Regions from separate parts of the Homo sapiens genome. Here region 1 is linked to region 2. The links are contacts of gene promoters, found by promoter capture Hi-C in blood cells and fetal thymus (Javierre and others, 2016). All regions are on one chromosome and are shown on one strand. The core of a region is centred on a gene start or on the middle of the fragment in contact, and the rest is flanking DNA. Distances in the headings are between cores, read along the strand shown. Region 1 has its middle 28 kb from the start of PABPC4. Region 2 holds the start of HEYL (hes related family bHLH transcription factor with YRPW motif like).

Region 1 (2,700 bases), core at 101-2,600, 35 kb after region 2:
TGGGTCTTTTCCATTCTATAGATTTGAACTGAAACATTGGCTTTTCTTGGATCTCAAGCCAGTAGACTTTCAGACTGGAACACACATTGGCTCTCCTGGGTCTCCAGCTTGCTAACTGCAGATCTTGGGACTTCTCAACCTTCATAATCACATAAGCCAGTTTCTCATAATAAATAAATGGGTCCTGGCCGGGTGCAGTGGCTCACGCTTGTAATCCCAGCACTTTGGGAGGCCAAGGTGGGCGGATGACAAGGTCACGAGTTCAAGACCAGCCTGGGCAATATGATGAAACCCAGTCTCTACTAAAAATACAAAAATTAGCTGGGCCTGGTGGCAGGCGCCTGTAGTCCCAGCTACTCGGGAGGCTGAGGCAAGAGAATCGCTTGAACCCGGGAGGTGGAGATTGCAGTGAGCCAAGATTGTGCCACTGAACTCCAGCCTGGGCGACAGAGCGAGACTCCATCTCAAAAAAAAAATAAATAAATAAAAATAAGTCCTGTTGGTTCTGTTTCTCTGGAGAGCCCTAATACATTTTTTTTTTTTTCGAGACAGGCTCTTGCTCTGTCACCCAGGCTGGAGTCCAGTGGCGCTATCTCGGCTCACTGCAACCTCCGCCTCCCGGGATCAAGAGAATCTCGTGCCTCAGCTTCCAAAGTAGCTGGGACTAAAAGCATGTGCCATCACACCCAACTAATTTTTGTATTTTTGGTATTGATGGGGTTTCACCACGTTGGCCAGGCTGGTCTCAAATTCCTGACCTCAAATGATCTGCCCGCCTCGGCCTCCCAAAATGCTGGGATTACAGGCGTAAGCCACCACGCCGAGCCCTGACTAATACATTCTGTTTTATACAAACTGTTTTTACTGGGTGGAAAAGAAGGGAAAACTGCCTAACTTGTTTTGTAATACTAGTATGCCCTTGTCATCAGCCCACGACAGGGCAATTAAAGGTAAGAACATTTTAGAACAAGCTTAGTTACGGTTATAGATACAAACATCCTAAATAATAAAACAGAATCCATATGACATCTAAATTAGAAGCAAATATGTAGTAGAGTTTAGCCAAAAATGCAAGGATAGGTTAACAACAGGGAAAGAATTCCTGTTCTGAACCTTAATACATTAAAAGATAAAAAGTATATAATCACTTAAATAAATAATCATTTGATGAATTCATTCATTTTTCAAATCTTAGCAAATTAGGATTAGTAGGATAATACCTTAACCCTATAAAGGATATTTGCCAAATTCCTAAACATCAAATTCAACGGTGAAACTCTAGCATTCCCATAAAAGTTAAAAATATGAATGCCCTTTATTCAAAATTTGATGGGCATTTCTAGCTAATGTAATAAATATAATAGAAATCAGAGGCTTAGGAAGTAGGAAGAGGTAACACCATTCTTATATGCATGATTCATTTTCTATTTGGAAAATAAAAATCTACATGCAGAGCATTAGAATTGATAAGAGTATTTGACAGGTTAGTTGAATACAAGATCATCCCACACATTCTGACAGCACTCTTGTTAATTGCTTATTGGAGTAACAACAAATAAGAACATATTGTGTCCAGAGTCGGTTCCTTCTGGTGGGTTCTTGGTCTCACTGACTTCAAGAATGAAGCTGTGGACCTTCCCGGTGAGTGTTACAGCTCTTAAAGATGGCACGGGCCCAAAGAGTAAGCACCAGCGAGTTTTATTATGAAAAGTGAAAGAACAAAGCTTCCACAGCTTGGAAGGGGACCCAAGCCGGTTGTGGTGGCTGGCTGGGGTGGGGGGGGGTGGCCAGCTTTTATTCCCTTATTTGTCCCCACCCATGTCCTGCTGATGGGTTCATTTTACAGAGCACTGATTGGTCCATTTTACAGTGTGCTGATTGGCGCATTTTACAAACCTCTAGCTAGCCACAGAGCGCTGATTGGTGCATTTTTCAATCCTAGCTACAGAGTGCCAGTTGGTGCATTTTACAATTTTCTTGTAAGACAGAAAAGTTCTCCAAGTCCCCACCCAACCCAGAAGTCCAGGTGGCTTCACCTCTCAATGTGGCTGGGCTTGGAGGCTCACACCTGTAATCCCAACACTTTGGGAGGCTGAGGTGGGTGGATCACCGAGGTCAGGAGTTTGAGACCACCCTGGCCAACATAGAGAAACCCTGTCTCTGCTAAAAATACAAAAATTAGCCAGGTGTGGTGGTGCTTGCCTGTAATCCCAGCTACTCAGGAGGCTGAGGCAGGAGAATCGCCTGAACCCGGGCAGCGGAGGTTGCAGTGAGCCGAGATGGCTCCCCTGCACTCCAGCCTGGGGGACAGAGCAAGACTCCATCTCAAAAAAAAAAAAGCAAAAAAAAGCTGGGTGGGGTGGCTCACGCCTGTAATCCCAGCACTTTGGGAGGCCGAGGTGGGTGGATCACGAGGTCAAGAGATCAAGACCATCTTGGCCAACATGGTGAAACCCCGTTTCTACTAAAAATACAAAAATTAGGTGAGCGTTGTGGCACACACCTGTAGTCCCACCTACTCGGGAGGCTGAGGCAGCAGAATCACTTGTACCTGGAAGGCAGAGGTTGCAGTGAGCCGAGATCACACCACTGCACTCCAGCCTGGCGACAGAGTGAGAATCTGTCTCAAAAAAAAAAAAAAAGAAAGAATGTATTATTTATAATGCATTTCCAATAGCAACAAAAATTATAAGGCACCTA
Region 2 (2,701 bases), core at 193-2,692:
GGTTTCCACTGACTGGCATGTGCCCACAGAAGTGATGTGAGTGCTGAGGGCATTTGGAATGAGAGTCCATAGTTGTGGCTGGGGCGACCACCAGGGCTTCCTGGTACTGATTGCTCACGACAGTTGCGCCTACCAGTATATATTTGTAAGTCTGTCCGTGTGTATGTGTTTGCATACCTGGCCAAATGGTTGTGTCTGTGGATGTGTGTGGACGGGGGCACAGGAACATTCTTTCCCATCAAGTAATCAAGTGTCCCCCAGCAAGCAGGCCTTGCTGTGGGGATGGAAGCACAGTTATTCTCAGATGACCAACCCGATTCTCCCACTTGAAGGGGTGGCTTCCCTCAGGTCCTGACCTGGTGGCGGGTAAAAAGGAAAAGACCTCTCATATCTAACCCAGCACACCAAGACCTCCTCTATCTCCTCTTCCCTGCCCAAGAAGTCCAGCTCCAGGATGCTCTCATGCAGCTTCCTTTGGAGCCTTAGGAGCTTCTCTGAGGTACTGGGCGCCTGAGGATGACCGGTGAATCTGAGAACTTCCCACAAGTCCCCCTAAGGACAGGGCAGCTAGAGCCCTCCCTGAGTGAACAGTTTGATGGGTTGCCAGAAGCAGAGGCCCCAGGAAGAGAGGCTGGAAGGTATCTTCCCTTTTCCTCTCCTTCTCCCACTTTGAGGCCCTGCCATAGCGTCTAGAAGGAGCCCTTTCCTGGCCTCCTGGCCGCCCAGGACAACTCGACCTCTGGTGAACTGGGAACTGATTCCCAGGGACAACCCACCACTGCCACCACGCCAGGCCTTTAGGGACCTCGGCCAGAGCCCAGCTTTCTCAGATGCGGTGGCCACAACTTCAGCCGTCCCTTTTGGGGGTGACTGCCACCTCTCAGAAGTGTAAGTGTCTTCCCCTTGCCCCCACCACACTATTCCACTTGCTTTGGGCCCCTATGGAGTTGCTGCTGGGGAATTCTTGCTGAGGATCAGGCCACAACCACCACGACTAACTTCGACAAACTTGATGTGTCTGCTGCCTCCAGAACACCAGGAGGCAGGAGCGCGCAGGGTTGACCCTTGCGGAATCCCGGGCATCGAAGCGGCGCCTCTACAGGCCAGCAGCGCCCAGGCGACCCAGGGACAGACGGGGACTCCTGGCTTCCCCGCGGGGCCTCCCAGGGCACCTGCCCAAGGCCACCCAGCGCGCGGCAGCCGAGACAGCGGAGCAGAGCCGGACCTCCCAGCCGTCGATGAAGGCGGCGACCGCCTAGGGCCTTCCCACGGCTCGGCGGCGCGTCACCGCGGGGGCGAGGGGGCGCCTGGGCGCCCGGAGCTGCGGCGCAGGAAAGGGCCCTGGGAAAGGGCGGTGGCGGCGCCCCCGAGGCGGGGCCGGGGCGGGGCCGGGGCGGGGCCTGACTTCCCGACTGGGAGCCTTAGCCGCGGGGCTGAGACCAGGCAGCCTGCGTTCGCCATGAAGCGACCCAAGGAGCCGAGCGGCTCCGACGGGGAGTCCGACGGACCCATCGACGTGGGCCAAGAGGGCCAGCTGAGGTAAGGGCCGGGATGCGGGGACCGAGCAGGCGGAGGGCGAGCGGGGTGGGGGTCGGCCCGACGGGCTCGCCGAGCAGGCGGGCCAGCCCTCCAGCACCGCCTGGGCAGAGGCAGGTGAGCGCGGGGGCCACAGGTGTCGGCGTAGGGGGCGTGTGCGGGCCGTGCCGTTACACGCACGAGTGCCTGGATCCTGCGCGCTCTCGGTCGTGCAGGGCTGGGGATGCTGGCAGGGAGGGAGAGTTCAGCTCGGGGGATCAGGTGGCTAGTGGGTTATCATCTATCTGTTGAAGTGGCCTAGGGGAGGCCATTGGCAGGTTTTCCCTGGAGATCTTAGAAAACTCTCATAGACTGATGGTACTCTGGCCCCTGTCTGGAATCTGCTGACGATGCAGAGTAACCCCATCCTTTCCCAATTTTACCCTAGTTTGGATGCAGTTTTCATGTAGTCCACAAATTATTTCAGGAAGAAGAAAATTTGTCCTCCTTTGAGCAAATTGGAGTTTGGATTTAGGGACTTAGTATTGAAGAAAATAATAAGCGACTTGCAAGGGCCTAGACTCTAATTCCAATGTTCCTCCTATCGTGCCCCCATACTGCCAGTGTCTTTCAGCTCCTGGTAGATAGTCTGACCTGCTTCAAACCTGTCGAACAAACTGCGCTTGTATAGTTCTGCTACCTCGCAGTTCTGTAAACTGTCTAAGCTTCAGTTTCCTTATCTGTTAAATGAGCATGAATAATAGAACCAACTTCATGGAAATATTGGGAAAACCAAATGAGGCAAAGTATGTCAAGGGCTTAGCACAGCACATGCCTAGGTACACACCATGTGATTCCCAGCACCCTGAAAGAGCTGCAGGGCTGACTGGGAGTCTGCAGACCTGGGTCCCAGCCCCAAATCTGCCACCAACTCACTATGTGGTCTTGGGCCATTGGTTTCCCTGACAGAGTCTGTCATCAGTTTCCCCATCAGTAAAACAAAGACAGCAGTGGAAAAGAAAGGGATATACTTCATCTCTCTTGGCTCATCTAGACTTGACTCTCTAGAACAGAATTGGAGGGGAATTCAGTTAATTCTTTCTTTCTTTCTTTTTGACATGGTCTCACTCTGTTGCCCATGCTGGAGTGCAGTGGCATGATCATAGCTCATGGCAACCTTGATCTC

What was found. Contacts are between HindIII fragments. The CHiCAGO score rates a contact against its expected background, and 5 or more counts as called.
Region 1: a contact is called between a fragment that was not itself captured here and the fragment with the promoter of HEYL in region 2, in 1 of 17 cell types (megakaryocytes). The highest score is 7.6, in megakaryocytes.

What each region holds. Positions count from the first base shown.
Region 1 is chr1:39,603,086-39,605,785 of GRCh38, reverse strand. No RefSeq gene overlaps it. Among named protein-coding and RNA genes, the nearest start is that of PABPC4, 28 kb to the right of the region's middle. The HindIII fragment of the contact is 753 bases long and covers 974-1,726 here.
Region 2 is chr1:39,638,384-39,641,084 of GRCh38, reverse strand. HEYL (hes related family bHLH transcription factor with YRPW motif like) reads left to right here and starts at 1,442. Exons shown (of 5, transcript NM_014571.4): 1 at 1,442-1,539. The coding sequence starts at 1,460. RefSeq lists silencers at 1,086-1,475, 1,596-1,665. The HindIII fragment of the contact is 7,834 bases long and covers 1-2,242 here.